6 separate regions of the Homo sapiens genome follow, and regions 1, 2, 3, 4 and 6 are each linked to region 5. The links are contacts of gene promoters, found by promoter capture Hi-C in blood cells and fetal thymus (Javierre and others, 2016). All regions are on one chromosome and are shown on one strand. The core of a region is centred on a gene start or on the middle of the fragment in contact, and the rest is flanking DNA. Distances in the headings are between cores, read along the strand shown. Region 1 overlaps TRERF1 (transcriptional regulating factor 1). Region 2 holds the start of LOC105375061 (a long non-coding RNA gene). Region 3 overlaps TRERF1 (transcriptional regulating factor 1). Region 4 overlaps GUCA1ANB-GUCA1A (GUCA1ANB-GUCA1A readthrough). Region 5 holds the start of UBR2 (ubiquitin protein ligase E3 component n-recognin 2). Region 6 overlaps TRERF1 (transcriptional regulating factor 1).

Region 1 (3,883 bases), core at 934-3,433, 320 kb before region 5:
CCAAACTGCTGGGATTACAGGTTTGAGCCACCGTGCCTGGCCAAGTCCAAATTTTTTATACTTCTTTAAGAAAATGTGTGGCCAGGTGCAGTGGCCTGAGATTACAGGGGTGAGCCTGTAATCCCAGCACTTTGGGAAGCCAAGGCAGGAGGACTGCTTAAGCTCAGGAGTCTGAGAACAGCCTGGGCAACAAAGTGAGACGTTGTCTCTACAAAAAATTAAAATATGAGTGGGGCGTTGTGGTGTGTGCCTGTAGTCCCAGCTACTCAGGTGGCTGAGGTGGGAGGATTGCTTGAGCCCAAGAAGTTGAGGCTGTAGTGAGCTATGATCATGCCGCTGCATTCTAGCCTGAGCGACAAAGTGAGACCCTGTCTCAAACAAACAAAAGAAAATTTGCATCTGACTGCTCTTAACTACACAAGGGAATCAGGCTTAACAACACGCTCAGCAGCTGTGTGACTATGGCCAATTTGCTTAAGCTCTGTGCTTCAGTTTCCTACTGCATAGAATTGGTATTAAATGAATTACATTGGATTAAATGAGTCAATATTTATAAAGTCCCTAACACAATGCCTGGCACATGAAAACTGCTGTTTCACTGTCTGTTAAAGAAAATAACACACATACATGTGCTAACCCTTACAACTGGGGCACAATTGGGAATGAAAATATAATTTCAAATATTTACATAATTCATGAATTCCCAATACTTTCACTGATGGTGACAAAAGCTAGAGTTTAGTAATGTCAGACATAATTTTTATATACACATATATGGTAGGTAATGTTTTCCACAGAGTGTGAAAAGGAGATTTCCCATGGCTATGGATGCAGGGTGGAGAGTTAATTGCAAGGATCACAAGTGATAGTAATCATCAAAGCCACACATACAGGGTTCAGAGACTAGTTAGGTCTTCTTGTGTCTTTGGTACGTACTTAATGTGCAGTTGACTGTGGACTGTCTGCTAATGAAGGAAATCAATACCAGGGATAATGGTGATGTAAGGATTAGAATCATCTACATGCAGCGAATTAGTTCCTTAATGATGGAGGGTTCCTGGCACTACCTAGAGGTCAAAGCTCCTCTTGCTCATGCTTTACAGACTGTGGCAAAATCCCAGGGACCCTTTCTGAGGCACATTATGGGCTCAGGTCAGTAGCATCTATGACATGGAAAGATCAAAAAAGAATATTCCAGGGGGTCAGGACACCACCCAATCATAAACCAACAAACCCAAGGCTGGGACCATCCTTGGTTTAATTCTTCTGGCTCCTAGCTGCCTTGAAGCGGGCACCAGCCCTCACCTCTGTTTCTGAACACTGAGCTACAGGCCAAACCTATGGACTTCTTTCCTTTAAACCTACTCAGGAGGGTAGGTCCTGAATCCTGCAGGAGAGCTGGGCTGTTGTCACCTCCTTCCTCTGGCTATCTTGGCAGCAAAGCCAAACCAAACACCAGCTACTTACTAACCTGGGCCTGGGGTGGGAGCTGTCCCAGCACAAGCAACAACTTAGCAGCTTCACTCACCACACAATCGTCGATGATTTCTGCCAGGCGTGTCCGGTGTTTCCGCCCCAGCCGCATGATCTTTTTCCACGTGTAGTAGTACTCCACGCACTGAGCCACCGTCTTGGACTTCACCTGCCGGGAAAGCGAACTCAAGGTTAGCTCCAGCAATGGGCAGAGAGCAAAGGTAGCAAGCATTTTTGAATATTTAATTTTGTAATAGGGTAATAAACAAGTTTGTACAGTTCAAGAAAAAAATGTACCTGGTGAAAGGCCTCCTTCACACGCCTGTCCTTACCCCTCACCCTGCAACACAGGTAGCCCCTTGCATTAATTTCTTTGGCTACCATTCCAGATTTTTTTTTTTTTTTTGAGACGGAGTCTTGCTCTGTCGCCCAGGCTGGAGTGCAGTGGCGCAATCTCGGATCACTGCAACCTCTGCCTCCCAGGTTCACACCATTCTCCTGCCTCAGCCTCCCGAGTAGCTGGGACTACAGGCATCCGCCACCATGCCCGGCTAATTTTTTGTATTTTTAGTAGAGACGGGGTTTCATTGTGTTAGCCAGGATGGTCTTGATCTCCTGACCTCGTGATCCGCCCACCTCGGCCTCCCAAAGCACTGGGATTACGGGCGTGAGTCACTGCGCCCAGCCTTTTTTTTTTTTTTTTTGAGATGGAGTCTTGCTCTGTTGCCGAGGCTGGAGTGCAGTGGCACCATCTTGGCTCACTGCAACCTCCACCTCCGAGATTCAAGCAATTCTCCTGCCTTAGCCTCCCAAGTAGCTGGGATTACAGGCACCCGCCACCGCACCTGGCTCATTTTTTTCTATTTTTAGTAGAGATGGGGTTTCACCATGTTGGCCAGGCTAGTCTCGAACTCCTGACCTCAAGTGATCCTCCTGCCTGGGCCTCCCAAATTGCTGGCATTACAGGCATTGAGTCACAACACCCATTCCAGAATTTTTTTCTTTTTTTGAGATGGAGTTTCACTCTCGTTGCCCAGGCTGGAGTGCAATGGCACGATCTCGGCTCACCACAACCTCCACCTCCTGGGTTCAAGCGATTCTCCTGCCTCAGCCTCCTGAGTAGCTGGGATTACAGGCATGCACCACCACGCCCAGTTAATTTTGTATTTTTAGTAGAGACGTGGTTTCTACATGTTGGTCAGGCTGGTCTCGAACTCCCGACCTCAGGTGATCCGCCTGCCTTGGCCTCCCAAAGTGCTGGGATTACAGGTGTGAGCCACTGTGCCTGGCCTCCAGAATTTTCTAATGCATGTACCAGCACACACAAAAATATATTCCCTCCCCCACCATCTTTCCTCACAAAAGGGAGCACACTATAAATACTGCTTTGCAACTTGATTTTTTTCTCAATATAGCTTGGAAATTTTTTCAGATCAGTCCTTACAGACTTACTCATTTTTTTAACCCATAAAGCAGCTGCTTTTTCATTTAATATGCTTGAATGTCTCTAACTTGACCTTCAAAATATGCTTATGAGAAATGTTCCTTAGTAATGGAATAGGAATATAAGGCAAAAGTTATGATGACAGAGCTTAGGTTTTGCAGGAAATGGGCCTTGCCCTATTCAACCCCAAACAGGCAAAGGTCTATGCATCTTAAGACAGAAACATTCCTTTGTTTAGTTCATATGCTGTATGATCAGGTGAGGTGTAATAACGTGGGTTTGCTGGAGGCAGATTAAAGGCTGGCCTTACCCTTGAGGGTGGGAACAAGGCCACCTACATGGTGAGATGAGAGGGGCACCCAGTCCTGTCTCCTCAAAGTTGCCCCCTTCTCATCCCCCTGACACCTGGAATTTCCACACTAGAATCACCTGAGGGAGTGAGGACAGTGCCCGTCCCAGAGAGCCCTGGGTTAAAACCCAGGTTGCCTGGTAAGCTCAATACACGAATCCATCATCAGTCGCAAGTGTGGGGCCTAAAGGATTGAGGTCTATGCCAGGCCAGTCCTGGAGGGGAGGGTGACTCTAGAAAGATGAAGCATGAGAGCTGCTGGGCACACAGGGCAGCAAAGGCATGGCAGCCGCCAAGGGCAAGGCAGGAGCAAATGCAGAGATGGAGGCGGAGGCGAGGCGGAGGCAAGTCAGAGACAAAGTCCTCCTGCTTTTCACACTTGCCCAGGCAAGGCCCTAGACTGACAACAGGAGACATGCCACCCTAGGACACCTCCGAGGACCATCTGTCTCAGCCAGGGGCCAGTGGGTGCTATCAACTGCGCCCTGTTCTTTGTGTACCTGAACAGCCTTAAATGGCTTTAACACAATATGGCTCCATCATTCATCAGTTTGTTGAAACACTCTTTGAATGATTTTAATTTTTTACACTAAACCATCTCTCAGCCAATAAAGTCA
Region 2 (3,350 bases), core at 410-2,909, 340 kb before region 5:
GTGGGCAGGGACAGCGTTCTGAAGCTTGGCCTATCCGTTAAGGGTCTCTTTCCTACAGCCTAAACTTCCAGACACCCAACCTCATGTAGAGGAGCAGGAGTCCAATGATTCTAGATAGTTGATGCAAGTAAACCTTGCTTTATGTCCAGAAAAAATAAACATAGATACATCAAATATTTTACAGTTAATCATATTTTGATTGTGCCAGTTGTTCTGTTTTTAAAGACAGTCCTTTCCAAAAGATCCTCTCGTACATAAAGGAAGTAATCAGCTCTTTGGCTCCTTTTTTTATATTTATTTTTATTATTATTGTTTTTTTGAGACACAGTTTCACTCCTGTTGCCCAGGCTGGAGTGCAATGGCTTGATCTCGGTTCACTGCAACCTCTGCCTCTTGGGTCCAAGGGATTCTCCTGCCTCAGCCTCCCGAGTAGCTGGGATTACAGGCATGCGCCATTATGCCTGGCTAATTTTTGTATTTTTAGTAGAGACAGGGTTTCTCCATGTTGGTCAGGCTGGTCTCAAACTCCTGACCTCAGGTGATCTACCCGCCGCGGCCTCCCGAAGTGCTGGGATTACAGGAGTGAGCCATCACGACTGGCCCTTTGGCTCCTTTACACAGGGATATCTACAATTCAAAGATCACTTATGGTTCTCTTAGGAATATATTATTCAATTTCTTAAAATGTCTTCCTAATTATGCTTTGCTGTGTCAACATGAACTCTCATCCACATTCCTAGAGCACATCTCAGCTCGCTGGCGGTGGCTGAGGATGGTAGATAGGGAGTAAATGGAATTCAGGATTTACACACACATTCTCTCTCTGCCAAATGCACACATGGATGAGCGTACCTGGAGGACTGGCGAGTTAACTCATTGAACAAATAGTTGCTGAGCACCCGCTATAAATTGCTGTGTACATGTGGGTGATGGTGAGAGGATTCCGAATATTGATAGGTCTCTTCTCAATCCTGGAATTGAATCTGTTCCAAGGCCCCCATATGTCTTTCTAGGTATTAAATTCCTTGGCAGGAAGGAATCATGTACAGCCATCTTTATACACTCTCCTCCCCCTGTATAATACAGTATGGAATAATGGTGGCTCATGAGGATCGACTGACTGAATAAAAGTAGAAAAAAATCTTCCAATTAGGCCTCCAGAAGTAGACTTTAAATTTACAGCACTGGCTAAGGCACACAGTTTCTAGAGGAATAGCTATTTTATTTGGTATAGGTTGTCTAAAGTAAACAGCTAAAATTAAAGTCAAAAACCAAAAAAGGCCAGGCGCAGTGGCTCACACCTGTAATCTCAGCACTTTGGGAGGCCAAGGTGGGTGGATCATGAGGTCAGGAGATCCAGGCCATCCTGGCTAACACGGTGAAACCCATCTCTACTAAAAAAAAAAAAAAAAAAAAAAAAAAATTAACCAGGCGTGGTGGTCTGTAGTCCCAGCTACTCGGGAGGCTGAGGCAGGAGAATCCCTTGAACTCGGGAGGTGGAGGTTGCAGTGAGCCCAAATCGCGCCACTGCACTCCAGCCTGAGCGACAGTGAGACTCCGTCTCAAAAACAAAAAAAATCCAAAAGAGGCCAGGTGCAGTGGCTCATGTCTATAATCCTAGCACTTCAGGAGGCCAAGGCAGAAGGATTGCTTGAGGCCAGGAGATCAACATCAGCCTGGCCAACATAGTGAGACCCTGTCTCTATTAGTTTAAAAACAACAACAACCCCCCTTCCCCACCCCCCCCACCCTCCAAAAGAATCTAGATCAAGGTCTTGAATAGGCATTCCCCACTTAAAGCAAATTTATTTTTGTAAAATTCTGTAAACTTCTGTATGAAATCCAGAATTTGAAAGTTCTTCTATAGTTTTCTGTTGACCATGAAAAGTAAACATACATCACGCCTGTAATCCCAGCACTTTGGGAGGCCGAGGCGGGTGGATCATGAGGTCAGGAGATCGAGACCATCCTGGCTAACAAGGTGAAATCCCGTCCCTACTAAAAATACAAAAAATTAGCCAGGGTGTGGTGGCGGGCGCCTGTAGTCCCAGCTACTCGGGAGGCTGAGGCAGGAGAATGGCATCAACCCGGGAGGCAGAGCTTGCAGTGAGCTGAGATCACACCACTGCACTCCAGCCTGGGTGACAGAGGGAGACTCTGTCTCAAAAAAAAAAAAAAAAAAAAGTAAACATACAGCCAGGTGCAGTGGCTCACACCTGTAATCCCAGCACTTTGGAAGGCCGAGGCGGGCCTCAGACGGATCTCTTGAGGCCAGGGGTTCGAGACCAGCCTGGCTAACATGGCGAAACCTCGCCTCTAATAAAATACAAAAATTAGCCAGGTGTGGTGGTGCATGACCTGTATAGTCCCAGCTACTTGGGAGGCTGACCCGTGAGAATTGCTTGAACCCAGGAGTGGAGGCTTCAGTGAGCTGAGATCATGCCACTGCACTCCAGGCTGGGGAACAAAGCAAGGCTCTGTCTCAAAAAAAAAAAAGTAAACATACTTACTCAAATTTGAAAATGCAGGTTTAAAATGCAAATAAATCGGGGTGGACTTAGAGGAGCTGACCCGTGAGAATTGCTTGAACCCAGGAGTGGAGGCTTCAGTGAGCCAAGATCGTGCCACTGCACTCCAGGCTGGGGAACAAAGCAAGACTGTCAAAAAAAAAAAAGTAAACTTACTTACTCAAATTTGGAAATTCAGATTTAAAATGCAAATAAATCGGGGTGGACTTAAGACTTTGTGGAGGATTTAGTGTAAGACACCTGTATGTCACAGTGTGCTCCCTTGAATCACAGTTTGAGTCATAAGGTTTATGACTCAGTTTGAGTTTATGACACAGTTTGAGTCATAAGGTTTACGAACCCAAGTGGTTCATCCACTGCTTGAATAGCAGAAATGTATGTCCTGGTCTTCGGAGTCGGGGGACACTTTAATAATGATCATTAAATTTGATCAGCCGACTTAAACTTGTTGTCTACGGAAACCAATTAACAGGTAAACTAGCATTTATCCAGCATTGAGAAGTCATAGCAATGGCTAGAAAGAAGAAATATTTAAGCCAAACGAAACGCAAAAGATTAATATTTTATTTTCAGAGCAGCTGATGCAATATTGAATCAGGTTTTCACAAATAAATATGACAGTGTCTGTTTGGTTACATCTCCATTTGATGAATGCCCATCTATAGGAACTGTAATAACTTTCTGAGAGGCTAATGATTAGAATGTGTTAAATAAAATTTCCCTGGTTCCCTTTTTGAAGAAGCATTGTGATAATTAAGAAAAAAAAAAAGCTTATCACTTGGAGGGGAAACAACCTAGAATGCCCCAGTTTCCTTTTTTTTT
Region 3 (3,384 bases), core at 601-3,100, 300 kb before region 5:
CCAGTCCATAATGACTTTGGCTACCCAGGTGTATTCTCATCCAGTCACACTTAAAGCATCAATTTCTTGTCTGCCCCTGTCTTTCTCTTACCATCTTGAAGGGGTGGGGGGGGTGTGCCTGGGACTCTGACCCCCATGTGACTATGAACTCTTAATTGAGAGTTCCCCAAGGGAACTATTTCCCCAAGGAAACACTGTTTCTCCTGCCAAAGCACGAACTTCCCTGGGCAAAGAGGGAGCTTGGATGTGTCATTTCATCTCTCTGCCTGTTGCTGACCCCCAAGTCCTGACGGCTTATGAGAATCTTCCCCCCAGTTCTCCATCAGTTTCTCTTCTTTTGAGGACTTGATATTACACCATAAAGGTTTTTTTCTGTACTTTTCTAGTTGTATTCATTATCTTCTCTCCCTCTACCCTGGCCCAGCCTACCCTTATGCCTCCTGGATTCCCAGCAGCTACCTATTCCTAAGGACAAATATGACCCAACATGCCACTTTGTGGGGAGGGGGTAGGTTTGATATTGCCAACCACACAGGTCACAAATTCCCTAGGGGCAGAGAGAGAGAGAGAGAGAGAGAGAGAGAGAGGAGAGAGAGAGAGAGAGAGAGAGAGAGAGAGAGAGAGAGAGAGAGAGAGAGAGAGAGAGAGAGAGAGAGAGAGAGAGAGAGAGAGAGAGAGAGAGAGAGAGAGAGAGAGAGAGAGAGAGAGAGAGAGAGAGAGACAGACAGACGGAAACCCTTCCCAGAGGCAAATTAAGCTGTTTGAGTGAAGCACTTAAAATTGGAGAAAGGAGAACAGTGAGTGAGAAAAACAAATCTCTTTGCTTTCCTGAGATTAGGGGTGGGTGGCTCTCAGTGGAACTACTTTGGGAACTTTAACGAATTAGGTTCTCCAGGGTATTTAAGCAGACAAAAATATTAAGCAACTGGTAAGGCTGCTTGTCAGAATGGATGCCAGGGCTATTGCCTGGAAGCCTGCTGCGCCAGTGGTTACCTCTTTGGTTGTGGATTTGGGAGGTCTGGAGATCCTGGGGAAGGGGCCAGGGCCTGGGGCAACAGCTGCTTACTTTCTGGGATACAGGACTTCCATATTTCAATAATGGCTATGATTGTCTCAGTGACTCCCAGCTGAATGATCGTCTCTGTTTAAACCTGGGAACACTTTCGGGTCTCTCAGAATCTAACCTAGGCCATTAGTTTGGCATTTAATGGGGAGCAGGCAGTGTGAACAAGGGTAGGGTTCCCAATGTGGCCACGGGTTCAGCCCTGAGAGACCAAGCCGTATCCAAGCTCAGGTCAGTGACTCTGGAAGGGCCGCCCCATCTCCAAGAAAGCAAAGGGATGTCCCCACCCAGGCAGGTGGGGCAGAGCAGCAACTCACAGCAGGCGTGCGGGGGGCAGCCCCTTGGGGTGAGTGTGGGGGAGAGAGGGTCATCCTCACGAGCACAGGCATCTCGTCGTCCGACATCGAGCTGGCTGGCTTGTCTCTGGCGGAGGGGGCGGCAACGGTGCTGTTGGTGAACCCCTGAGAGCTGGGCTTGGGCGGGAGAAGCTTGACAGGGACAGACACGGGCATGACCATAGGCGTGAGGCTTTCTGCCTCGGGAGGGAGCTGTGGTGGCGGCGGAGGCGGAGGCGGAGGCGGCAGTGGTGGCTGGGGCTGAGGCGGCAGGACCTTCTCTCCTTCCTCCTACACAGACAATAAAGGCTTTGATCCTGGGCTGAGAGCAGCTCTCACAAGGGGGATGCACTTTGCTTTTCCCGAAAGGTTCCAGGACATCAGGTATGGGTGATAGAGAACCGCTGCAGGGCGATTTCCTTCCTGCAATCCTGAGTCCCTTGGCTGGAGTGATGCCAGCTGATGGTGGAAGAGGCTGGACTCCATTTTTTACAGTTAAAAATTCTTGACCATGCATTACTTGTGTATTAAACTATTTTAAAAAAATTGTGTGGTTGTCATGCTTTTAAAGAAAGGGACACGGACTTGTAATCAGTCCAAAAGAAGGTACGATCTTGTGTAGGAGTTTTTAATTCTATGGGCCTTAGTTCACTCATTTGTCAAATGGAAATAGGCATTCCATCCTAAATTTTATTCAGGTCAGGAAACCACACTGGAGATACAAAACATGTACTTTTAACAAGTAAAGACAAAAGCTTTTTTAAAAAACATAATCTGGCATGGCCAGGAGATGGAGTGATCTGGGTAATCAAAAATTCTGTTCAACAGAGATTTAATCCCATAGATTTAAATTAAGAGTAACAATATTAAAATAATTCTGAGAAAATTTTTTGATTTTAATCTAACTCTAAAATTTGTGGATAGTTTACTATCTGGATATCCTACCTGGATAATCCAGAGGGTATTTAAGGATCTTTGGATGTTGAGCTGAACACCACTGCATCAGTAAATAGAAAATTCTGGCTGAGAGCCTGATGATTATATTAGCTTTCTCTGGCAATTGACCACTAATCTGGAAGGCCCCAGTGGGCCTGGTCTTGGGTGTGTCAAGCAGCAGAAGTTTAAAAATAATATTGCATTTACATGTTTTCCTTTGCTGTCTTCTCCAGGAGGCAGAGAGAGAAGCTGGGATGCCCTAAAAGGCTTTCTAGCGCCTCTGATTTTGACCCTTGCTCATCATAAAGCTGGGGAAGTGGGGCTGCTTGACCTGGCTGGCTCCCAGCGCCAAAGCCTAAGCATTCCTGTCAAGGGAGGACTGTGCCTCGCCAGGTCCCGCATGGGGCTCACATCACTCTCTGTCTGACGGCAGCAAAGCAAAGCAAGCAGCACACGACCTAGAAAGGACCGGGAACTGGCTCCTGCTAACCTGTTTGAGGTTGGGGGAGGCCCTCATTCCCCCGTGGGACCGCATGTGGCCATTCAGGGCAGGCAGGTTCTTGAACTCCTTCAGGCAGATGGAGCATGTCAGCTTGTTCTTGGCATCAAACTGCTCCCCAAACGCTCCTTTGGGTTGGCCACTGCTCAAGGGAAGAGTCAAATGGAGAGGACACATACGTTGAGGAAGGGGAAACAGTGACTTGCCACAAGACCTCATACCCACCACAAACCCATTTCATTCATCCAATGATCCCATTGTCCATGGCACCACTTGTATCACCCCAGTGCCCTTTAGAGAACAAAGTTCAATTTATAGATGAAAAACTGAGGCTCCAGAGTGGGAAAAGGCCTTCTCAAAGTCATGCAAGAATTGAACAAAATGTCCTTCTTCATACCAAGGCTTCAGGCAATGGATTTTGACTTGGGAACGATAGCTTATTACCCTTCCAGGGTCAGCCTGAGCCCAGCTCCTCCAAAAGCCTCCCCACTTAGAGACATTTGTGCAAGTTCCTGGGGCAGCCGCCGTACTGCACGCTTCAGCAGTTTATC
Region 4 (3,404 bases), core at 460-2,959, 390 kb before region 5:
CCTGGCCCATAGAAACTGTGAGATAATAAATGTGTGGCCAGGCACGGTGGCTCATGCCTGTAATCGCAGCACTTTGGGAGGCTGAGGCAGGTGGATCACCTGAGGTCGGGAGTTTGAGACCACCCTGACCAACATGGAGAAACCCTGTCTCTACTAAAAATACAAAATTAGTGGGGCATGGCGGCACATGCCTGTAATCCCAGCTACTCAGGAGGCTGAGGCAGGAGAATTGCTTGAACCTGGGAGGCAGGAGGTTGTGCTGAGCCGAGATCGCATCATTGTACTCTAGCCTGGGCAACAAGAGTGAAACTCCATCTCAAAATAATAATAATAATAATAATAATAATAATAATAATAATAATAATAAATGTGTGTAGTTTTAAAACTGCTGACTTTGTGGTTATTTGTTATGCAACATAGAAAACTAATATAACACACACATTAGCCAGAGTTCTTCAGAGAGACAGAGCTAATAGGATTATATATAGAGGTATGAGAGAAGATTTATTAGGGGGATTGGCTCACATGTTTATGGAGGCTGAGAAGTCCCACAATATGCCATCTGCAAGATGGAGAACCAGGGAAGCCAGTAGCATGGCTCAGTTCAAGCCCAAAGGGTTCAGAGCCAAGGAAACTGATGGTGTAACTCTGGGTCTGAAGCTGAAGGACTGAGAACGTGAGAGTGGGGAGGGGTTGCTACTGGTGCAAGTCCTGGAGTCCAAGGGCAGGAGAAGAAGAGTGTCCCAGCTCCAGGACAGAGAGAGAGAGAGAGAGGGAGAGAATTCACCTTTCCCCTGCCTTTTTCTTCTGTCCAGGCCTAAGCCAATTGGATGGTGCCCACCCACATAGGCTGAAGGCAGATTCTCCTTACTTAGTCCATGAATTCAAATGCCAGTCTCTTTGGCAAGCACCCTCACAGAAACACCCAGAAATAAAGCTTTACCAGCTTGTTGGGTAATCCCTTCATCCAGTCCTAAAATTAACTGTCACAACACATAAGCAAAATGTCAGTATGCTGTGGGAGGAAGATATTTGAGAGAGATTTGGGAAGGCTTCACAGAGGAGGTGGCATTTGTACTCACACATGAAGAGTGAGAGGGATTTAAATAGAAAGGGAAAGATGAGCGGCTGCCTTGTCCCCAACCTCTTCATTTCCCAATCTTGGGCCTGAGAGTCCTCGGCAAGGACACATTTTCCAGCTGGGCCCCAAGCAAGTTCACAGAAGGAGTCCTTCTCTCCCCGTCCCTTAACTTGTTGTGGAGAAGCTGACTGAAGCAGGGAGAACCCAGCTCCCCACCCCCATATACCTTCCGTCAATCAATTCATGTGGAGTAGAGGTAAAACAGTCCCAGTTTGTCTCTTTTTCAAAAATAACTATCCTCTTTGATTTTGTGAGCAACATATGTTCATTATGAACAATTTTTTTTTTTTTTTTTGAGATGGAGTCTCTCTCTGTCGCCCAGGCTGGAGTGCAATGGCGTAGTCTCGGCTCACTGCAAACTCCGCCTCCCAGGTTGAAGTGATTCTCCTGCCTCGGCCTCCCAAGTAGCTGGAATTACAGGCGCCCACCACCATGCCTGGCTAATTTTTGTATTTTTAGTACAGATGGGGTTTTACCATGTTGGCCAGGCTGGTCTCGAACTCCTGACCTTGTGATCCACCCGCCTCAGCCTCCCAAAGTGCCGGGATTACAGGCGTGAGCCTGGATCTGGTAAGGCTTTAACAAAGGCCTCCACCTTCCCTAGGGCCTGACTACAGCTGGTAGGTGGCCTGTGTGAGGCAGGTTGGATGTCTGTTCCTACACATAGCCCTTCTGGCCGTCCAGGGCCCAGAGTGAATGGGGCTAAAGGGACAAGAGCACGATTGGCTCTAACCCAGGGATGCTGCTGTGTCCAAGATGCAGTATAAGTGCACCTAGATTGTAGTGAACAGCACATCAGACATGCTGCTGTAATAGATACAAAATCATAACATCATAGCCAAGATTTATGGGGCACTTACTCTGGGGCAGACCTTGTTCTAAATGCTTTTCTTATATTAACTCACATACTCTTTTTTTTTTTTTTTTTTGAGATAGGGTCTCGCTTTGTCATTCAGGCTGGAGTGCAGTGGTGCGATCTTGGCTCACTGCAACCTCCGCCTCCTGGGTTCAAGCGATTCTCCTGCCTCAGCCTCCCGAGTAGCTGGGATTACAGGAGTGTGCACCATCACGCCTGGCTAATTTATGTATTTTTAATAGAGATGAGGTTTCACCATGTTGGCCAGGCTGGTCTCGTACTCCTGGCCTCAAGTGATCCACCCGCCTCGGCCTCCCAAAATGTTGGGATTACAGGTGTGAGCCACCGTGCCCAGCCCCACTTACTCCCCTTAACAGCCCTATCAGATGGGCGCCATTATTCCTATTTTAAGAATGAGGAAACTGGGGCCCAGAGAGGTTAAGTTACTTGCTCAAGGTCACCCAGCCAGTAATGTAAGCAAGAAACAAGCTTGTATTGTTTTCAGCCACTGAGATTTTAGAGTGGTTTGTTACTGTAGCATAACCTAGCCCATTCTGAAATATGTATGCACATGTATTTGATATATGTTATATGTTGTATAAATTGTATATTTATATAAATCTATTTACATGTAATTATATATTATTTATATAAATCATATAAATTGTGTATCAGTGCACAACTTGACCAAGTGTCCAAGGCCCTGGTGGGGAAAGCAGAAATATGGGCAGTGGTTCCCTCTAGATGAGTTAGGAGACCTGGGTGTGCCCCATATGTAAAGGAGGAAGGCAAACAAGAGAAAAAGACAGGGCAGGGCAAGCGCTGGCTTTAAGCTTTCCTGGCAGCATCCAGGTTAAGTGCACCTGCACCCAAATGCTGGTTCCATAAATGAGCCAGCTTTTAAGTGTGTGGCTAGGGAGTACGCATCCCACCAGGCATCAGAGAAAGCTGTTGCTGCATAGACAGGCCCCCAGGCTTGGCCTGGGAGCTTTCCAGGACCAGCAGGTAGCAGCTCACCCATGCACCTGTGTGCCTGCACTCTCACACTCACACATACCCCAGGGCACCAGGCGCACACTCCATGTCCCCTGCCCTGTGCCCCTAGTAGGTGATGGTGATGATGTGAGGCTCAGAATTAGATGGAAGGATGAATTCAGGGCTCTCAAGAAGGGAGAGATGCAACCTTCAGGAACATGAGAGTGTGGCCAGAACAGGATGAGTGTGTACGAGTGTGTGTATGTGTGTGCACGTCTCTGTGTACTGGTGCAGGCTAATGTAGGAGGGGGTTCTCTCTGGCTGTTCAAGGCTTATCTTGGAAGCCCACAGACTCTGCATCCACCCAGGTGCCCTCAAATGTTAGCACACTCATGGTATGATTGGACCCCCTCAGTTGTGATGGCCAAGTGC
Region 5 (3,481 bases), core at 888-3,387:
ACATGGAGAGTCCCACTGCTAATGCTACTAATGCTAAGTGAAGATGATCTCCAAATTCATAATTATGACACACAAGGGAAACAATTTTTTTTTGAGTCAGGCTCTCATTCTTTCACCCAGGTTAGAGTTCAGTGATACAGTCATAGCTCACTACAGGCTTGAACTCCTAGGCTCAAGTGATCTTTCCTGTCTCAGCCTCCCAAAGTAGCTAGGACTACAGACATGGGCCACCATGTTCGGCTAATTTTTAAATTTTTTTGTAGAGATGGGGTCTTGCTATGTTGCCCAGGCTGGTCTCAAACTCCTGGCCTCAAGTTATCCTCCAATCTTGGCCTCCCAAAGTTTTGGTATTACAGGTGTGAGCCACAATGCTCGGCCTGAAACAAATAATGTTAGGAAGCAAATAATGTTAAGAACAGAAATTGCCTTTACAGTCTATTAACGACTTAAATTCTATGTTAGGACAGCTCAAGAGATGTTGTTTTTGCTTCTAGGCTGGGACAATCCCAGTTTTCTTCCAAGTTGACTCTGTCCTGAGTGGATCAGTGTAAGGAAGTTGGGCAAAAAAAGAAAAATACATAGAAGAATATTTCAAGATATCTCATTATAAATATCTGTACAGATATGTGCATACTTTTTTCTGGACAGACTCATAAGACAGTGTCAAAAATGATTTTCTTTGGGGAGAGGGACTTGGGGTAAGAGGAATAGGAAGTTTTCAATTTTCCTTTTTTAAAACATTCCTTTCGAGTTTGAATTTCTGATGTTTTATATGTATATATATATATAACTTTTAAAAAGTGATAAGAAGGCTTACTTGTATTGTGAGGTTACAGGGATACAGGCAGTTTCTTATTTCCTTTTTTAAAAAACTGGTTAATATCATAGTATTGGTTTAAAAAAAATCCCAAAACAACATAAACATAAACATGTCCTAAACCTGGTCTGGCTCAGAACTTTTCCCCCCTATATGTAATTTACAACCTACTTCTGGGAATAAATTAACACACTTGACAAAAGGTATAAACAATTTTCTGACAAACTCTAGAGACTGAAGACTTCTAAGAAGCCCAGTCACCCAGCTGTCAGTCAAGAGTCTAATTACCTTTAACTAAACATAGTTTTCTTTGATAGCTAGTCTAACAATGTTTACCTATTTCTTTTTTTTTTTTTTCCTTCTTTTTTGATACAGGGTCTCAGCTGTGTCACGCAGGCTGGAGTGCAGTGGGCTGATCACAGCTCACGATGGCCTCAACTGCCTGGGCTCAAGCAATCCTCCTGCCTCAGCTTCCCGAGTAGCTGGGACTACAGGCGTGCCACCACACCTGGCTAATTTTTTGATTTTTATCAAGAGGGTCTCGCTATGTTGTCCAAACTGGTCTCAAACTCCTGGGCTCAAGTAGTCTGCCCCCCTCGGCCTCCCAAAGTGCTGGAATTACAGGCATGAGCCACCAAGCTTGGTCTGATTATCTGTAGAAATTAAATGTCTCTATCAAGAGGAAATCTTTTAATTGGCCTAATAGACTCTTTTTCCTTTGCAGCAAGATTTGTGATAAAGTTTATAAGTGGTCATCACTAAAGTTTTTGAAAAATTTTTTAAAACATGTTTTAAACCTTCAAAAAAGTGGGTAATGTTCACCTCCATTACTCGTATAAAAGATATGGGTTCGATGGATGACAGGACATAGAACCACAGGAATAGAATGTAATTCATTCATTCCTTTGACAAGTATTTGAGTGCCTACCCTATGCCAGACTGGCAAGTCCTTGAGGGTCTACCATGTGCCAGGCAGTGTTCTTGAAGCTGGGGATACAAAAATGAACAAACGAGATTCGGAGAATAAAACTACAGTTCCCACAGTATCTTTCTCTTTGGCTTTTTTCCAGGGGGCGCTGCTTTCCGCGACTGTCTTCCCATGATTCTCGTTGGGCAGAAAAGCCCCGCCCGCTTATCTGCCATTTAAGCCAGCGCCCCTTGAGAATGGACTACAACTCCCACAATGCATTCGAGGGGCACCGTGTTAGGGCGCCACCTTTTTCCCGGCTGTGCTGTACCTACAGCACCCAGAACTACAGTACCCAGAAAGCTCCGCTTCCCCTCCTGGGTGTTATTGCCCCTTTCCTGGTGCAGGACGCGGTAGTGGCCAGCGAGAGTGTCAGGCCTGGGGTTTTCTGTGTCCTTCCCTGGGTCAGGGACGAGCCAGTGACTTGACTCTTGGGCGCTAAGCTTGGGAGGGAGCGCAGGAGGCCGCTGTCCTTCCTTTCCGGTTCACGTCACCCTTCTCTCCCTCTGTTGCTCCACCTGCAGCCACTTGGACGGCTCCGGGACTGATTGCCTGGGGCAGGGGTGGCAGTCGAGGCCGCCGGGGCCGAGGTGAGGCTGCAGCTCTCCGGGCGGCGGTAGCGCTGGGGAGGAGGAGGAGAGAAGATGGCGTCGGAGCTAGAGCCAGAGGTGCAGGCCATCGACCGGAGCTTGCTGGAATGTTCGGCCGAGGAGATTGCGGGGGTGAGTGCCGGAACCCGGGCGGGTGCGTCTGCCCCTCGCAGGCCGCGCCTGTGGGGAGGAACCGACTCCTGGACGTCCTGGAGCAGCCCGACCCAGACTTGGGGAAACAGCTGTGCCGGCCCTCGCCTTGTGGGGTAATAGCCCGGGGAGGCCACCGATCCTGCCCCTCTCTTTCCATTTTCAACAGCTGCCAGAGCTGCGCTGTGCACTAACTACGTTTACTTTCCCTTTCTGCCCAGGAGAACCCACGGCTCTTCCATCATACCTCCTTTCCCCCAGCCTCCCATTAAGTCTCCCAACACATGGGCCTTTGCCCTTTATATCAGCTCTTGGAAGAGGAGAAGAGACGCTTCTTGTGTTTTTGGTATAATCGCCCTAGTTTATCTAGTTAATTGCTTTTCCTGAGACAAGCGAAGCCGTGTGCTCCTCCGACTAAACATGCCACCCTAACCGAGCCCCTCTTTTGTTTTTGGGACTGCCCCAGGCACCAAGAAGGCAAACGACACTACCCTTCGTTATCCGTTTCAGTGCTATCTTTTTTTTTTGCACCGGTTTGATTAGTTGACAACGTTGATGCATGTGTGGAAAGTTTACTGAGTATGAGAAAGTAGTCGTGGAGTCTGGGAAATTTTAAAAATATTTTTTCTAGGAGTTAGGGGTAATTGGATGGAGAACAAATGTTATATAACGTTGATAGAGCAGCTTTCAACAAATACTGTATAAGCTAAACGTGAGAACTGGTCACAGTGTAGTAGGAGCAGTTATATTCCAAACGTAAAACCGTTCAAACGCACTATTGCATTAAAACTGTAATATGAATATGCTAGTGTAAATAGCAGAGTTGTAGGAACACCCATTAGAAGAGATTGCCGAGAATGATTATGAATGGACCAAGACAGCTTGGGCCCCACCTCTAAGACCTCCAATTAAAAAGGCTGCTAGGAAGGGAGTGACCCGTGAATAAAAGTCAGCAAT
Region 6 (3,760 bases), core at 1,192-3,691, 270 kb before region 5:
GCTTAGTCCCCCTAGAAACCTTCACCCTTCTAAATATTTGAGCAATGCCTGGAAAAAGATAAGAGGTGAACTTCAAATAATTTTTTGGTGCTCCCAAGAGGCTGAACTTTTAAAGTTGCCAATCCCTGTTTTACAGAAGTGAGGTGGTAGCCCAGATGAGCTGAAGCATTAGTCAGAGAGACAGAAGCCATGTGGAAACCCATTCAAGACCTCCATGTTCATCAGCTATGAGTGGTCAAACACACTTGGGAAATCTGGTGTCAAATGTTAGCCGCAGGACTTCTGAGGGCTTTTGATAATGGGAGATGGTGCTCCAAGAGGGACCACAAAGGCCATCTGTGGGGCTTTCTAAACCCCAGTTCCTACCACTTCTACACCCAGGATGCATGAGGCTCCTTCTCCAGCAGCCTCACCTTGGCTGCCCCATAAGACCAGCTCAAATCATCATCCAGCCTCATCCAGGAAGCCCTCCCTGACCATTGAAGGGCATCGTGTTTTTCCCTCTTGGATATCCACTCTGAGTACCTAACAATCTTATGAAGATGTTTTAGACTTTATGCATTTTTTTTGGTTACAAAGTCCTCTTGTGATGAATAGACTTTAATTTTAGAGTAGTTTTAGATTCACAGCAACTTTATGCATTCTTTTATAGTACTTGCCCACTATACAAAGCCCAGAGTCACTATAAATAGCAGGCTTTGAAAAAAAGACTTGTTGCCTGATAGATATCAAATCAGGAAACGACACATGTCTAGGTGTAATATAAAGCCATTTATTACAAGAGGGCGTGAAAAGTGAAGTCTCATGCCAGCTATAAGAATAGAGCTAAAGGACATTCACGACCCTTCTCCCCCAGCCCCATCACTGCTGAAAATGTGTCCTCAGAGCAGTAATGCCATCCCTTGATCTGGGGGCCCTGCAAGGGAAACCTCCACAGTGAGTCCACGCAGCCCCAGCCCCACCACGGCACCAGGACACAGGGCACAGCTCAGCGGGAGGGCCAAGATATGGAGTGTGGAGGTCTAGGCCCCATTTTCAGAACCCCTGGTTTACATCTTCCACAAACACTGGCCAGACCAGTGCGTTCTATCTTCCCTCAGATTATTTTTAAAAACACCCCAGTTCAAAGAACATCATAAAGAGGCTGGGATTCCCACATTTACATTAGATTTCTGCCTCCATTTTAATCTCATTTTATAAACTGGCTTTGTCAATTTAAAAGCATCACCAACAAGAACACTGGCCTTGAAGTGGTCTGTTCTCAGTCATAGTTATATGAACCACCACTGACCAAGCACTGATGATATCCAAGCTCTGTGTTACAAGCTCTACAGGCATCATTTCATTAAGTCCTTGAATAGCTCTATCCACTGTCCCCATGTGACCAATGAAGAAACGGAAGCTCAGAGAGATTCAGCTGTTAAGTGGCAGAGGTAGGTTCAAACTCAGCTCTTTCTCCCTGCCCCTCAAAGCCCAAAAGCCAAACCACTGTGCTCTGTAGACTCCCCTCCAATGAAAGGCACGCCACCATGAAAAAGAAAAACCAATCGCAGGAAGGATGGGGAGAGGGGAAAAGGAAAAAGAGGCAGAGGGAAGGGAAGAAGGTGAGAAGGAGAGAGTAGCATAAGGAGGAAAGGAAGCCAAGGTCTGGATGAGAAGCCCACGGGATCTGGCTTCAGGTTCAGGAGACTTTTTGCAGAATGGGAATGAAGCAGGAGGGCTGCTGGTGACTGCCAGACAAACAAGCCACAAAATATGGAGAAGCCATTTCCTCCCTCAAGGAAGATAAACAATAGATTCATAAACAAATTGTACAAAGCTGTTCAGCTAGTTAAAACATTTTGGTAGCAACTCATATTCTTTGTGGGACTAAAGTTTGTCCTTGCCAATGGTCAACAGTTATCGTGGGGAGAGAGGAGAGGAGAGGGACATATTCTCTCCCAGCCTTTCACCTGCTAGGCCTATGGCTACACCCTCTCTGAGCTTCAGGTCACTCTTCTGTGAAGAAATAGAAATTCCTGCCCTCCTGACTATTGTGGAGAAGAAAAAGATATACTTTTGGCAATATGGCAGACCGGATACCTTACTTGCCCCTCCTAATGGAAAGAACTAATATGCTGGATACAATTTTAGATATAAAGACTGAATACACATTGCTGAGATAGTACAAATGAAAAGACCAAAACAAACCCAAAGCAGGAACCTTGGAAGGTGAGCTGGCATCAAAGCTGGCTTTTGCCCTGAGGGTTTCTGCTGAAACCTGGAGATTCTAAGTTTCCCAATGACAGCAGCACAGGGTTAAGAGCCTAGGGAGACCCCTCCACAAAGTTGGGACTTCAAATGGCTCCACTCCACAAAATTCATTCGACTTGGTGAATGAGAAGTAAATGCACAACACAGAGACTGCAAGAAAACTGGACCTTGCAAGGGCTGAGCAGAATGGGGGGAAAATCTCTCTGCTGAAAATGTGTAACCATAGCTGGACTTCACACAGGTTTGTAGCCTGAATTATATTACTTGGGTAGCCAGAAAAGCCTTAACTAGAAAATTAATTTAAAGTGATTTTTGTTGGTAATGCCCACCAGACAACCAGCAGAAGTTAACCAAATCCTCTCTGGAAAAGACAACTCAACCCACACCTCAGATAATTCCCTAAGATAAAGTGCCAAGAAAAAATGAGCAATTCACAGGAAACAAGGCATTATGAATACCAGCCAGCAGAAACAACAAGTGGCAGAACCAGACCTGCAAGAACTTCAGATTTGGGAATTACAAGACACAAAATTATAAAATTTCTAAATAGCAAATTTAATATTTTAAAGAAATAAACATCTTCAAATATGAGCAAGAAATGAGAGACCAGAAAAATCACCAAGCAGAACTTCTAGAAATGACAAATAAATAAAGCAAAAAGAAAAAATCCAATGAATGGGTTAAAGAGCATTTTAGACACATAATAAATTAGTTAAATAGAAGATAGTTGTTGTTTTTTTTTGTTTTTGTTTTTGTTTTTGTTTTTTTTGAGACAAAGTCTGGCTCTGTCACCCAGGCTGGAGTGCAGTGGTATGGTCTCAACTCACAGCAACCTCCACCTCCAGGGTTCAAGTGATTCTTGTGCCTCAGCCTCCAGAGTAGCTGGGATTATAGGTGCGCGCCACCACACCTGGCCAATTTTTTTATTTTTAGTAGAGATGGGGTTTCACCATGTTGGCCAGGCTGGTCTTGAACTTCTGACTTCAGGTGATCCACCCACCAAGGCCTCCCAAAGTGCTGGGATTACAGGTATGAGCTATTCCCCCGGCCAGAAGATAGATTTGAATAAATTATTCAGAGTTCAGCACAGAGAGACAAAGAGATGAAAACGTAAAATAGGTTGAGGGTGGTGGCTCACGCCTGTAATGCCAGCACTTTGGGAGGCTGAAGTGGGTGGATCACTGGAGGTCAGGAGTTCGAGACCAGCCTGGCCAACAGGGTAAAACCCTGTTTCTACTTAAAATACAAAAATTGGTGGGGCACGGTGGCTCATGCCTGTAATCCCAGCACTTTGGGAGGCCGAGACGGGTGGATCACCTGAGGTCAGGAATTTGAGACCAGCCTGGCCAACATGGTGAAATCCCATCTCTACTAAAAATACAAAAATTAGCCAGGCGTGGTAGCAGACGCCTGTAGTCCCAGCTACTCAGGAGACTCAGGCAGGAGAACTGCTTGAGCCCAGGAGGTGCAGGTTGCAGGGAGCCAAGATTGTGTCACTGTACTTCAG

The links. Contacts are between HindIII fragments. The CHiCAGO score rates a contact against its expected background, and 5 or more counts as called.
Region 1: a fragment that was not itself captured here is called in contact with the fragment with the promoter of UBR2 in region 5 in 4 of 17 cell types (M1 macrophages, M2 macrophages, M0 macrophages and 1 more); the score reaches 6.4 in M1 macrophages.
Region 2: a fragment that was not itself captured here is called in contact with the fragment with the promoter of UBR2 in region 5 in 7 of 17 cell types (M2 macrophages, endothelial precursors, M1 macrophages and 4 more); the score reaches 7.8 in M2 macrophages.
Region 3: a fragment that was not itself captured here is called in contact with the fragment with the promoter of UBR2 in region 5 in 4 of 17 cell types (M2 macrophages, M0 macrophages, M1 macrophages and 1 more); the score reaches 5.6 in M2 macrophages.
Region 4: a fragment that was not itself captured here is called in contact with the fragment with the promoter of UBR2 in region 5 in 1 of 17 cell types (M2 macrophages); the score reaches 5.7 in M2 macrophages.
Region 6: a fragment that was not itself captured here is called in contact with the fragment with the promoter of UBR2 in region 5 in 2 of 17 cell types (M1 macrophages and M2 macrophages); the score reaches 6.7 in M1 macrophages.

What each region holds. Positions count from the first base shown.
Region 1 is chr6:42,241,720-42,245,602 of GRCh38, forward strand. TRERF1 (transcriptional regulating factor 1) reads right to left here. Exons shown (of 18, transcript NM_001395490.1): 15 at 1,529-1,642. Among named protein-coding and RNA genes, the nearest start is that of MRPS10, 26 kb to the left of the region's middle. RefSeq lists an enhancer at 151-733. The HindIII fragment of the contact is 7,735 bases long and covers 1-3,883 here.
Region 2 is chr6:42,221,860-42,225,209 of GRCh38, forward strand. It overlaps LOC105375061 (a long non-coding RNA gene), which reads left to right and starts at 2,880. Exons shown (of 4, transcript XR_001744122.2): 1 at 2,880-3,000. TRERF1 (transcriptional regulating factor 1) reads right to left here. Exons shown (of 18, transcript NM_001395490.1): 18 at 3,072-3,350. RefSeq lists an enhancer at 2,648-2,727. The HindIII fragment of the contact is 3,274 bases long and covers 23-3,296 here.
Region 3 is chr6:42,261,880-42,265,263 of GRCh38, forward strand. It overlaps TRERF1 (transcriptional regulating factor 1), which reads right to left. Exons shown (of 18, transcript NM_001395490.1): 7 at 2,825-2,975; 8 at 1,441-1,689. Among named protein-coding and RNA genes, the nearest start is that of MRPS10, 46 kb to the left of the region's middle. The HindIII fragment of the contact is 602 bases long and covers 1,550-2,151 here.
Region 4 is chr6:42,169,596-42,172,999 of GRCh38, forward strand. The region is part of intron 1 of GUCA1ANB-GUCA1A (GUCA1ANB-GUCA1A readthrough); the gene reads left to right. Among named protein-coding and RNA genes, the nearest start is that of GUCA1A, 2.1 kb to the right of the region's middle. The HindIII fragment of the contact is 1,549 bases long and covers 936-2,484 here.
Region 5 is chr6:42,561,892-42,565,372 of GRCh38, forward strand. UBR2 (ubiquitin protein ligase E3 component n-recognin 2) reads left to right here and starts at 2,138. Exons shown (of 47, transcript NM_001363705.2): 1 at 2,138-2,506. The coding sequence starts at 2,429. RefSeq lists enhancers at 1,700-1,779, 1,850-2,369 and a silencer at 3,402-3,481. The HindIII fragment of the contact is 771 bases long and covers 1,455-2,225 here.
Region 6 is chr6:42,295,152-42,298,911 of GRCh38, forward strand. The region is part of intron 4 of TRERF1 (transcriptional regulating factor 1); the gene reads right to left. Among named protein-coding and RNA genes, the nearest start is that of MRPS10, 79 kb to the left of the region's middle. The HindIII fragment of the contact is 9,654 bases long and covers 1-3,760 here.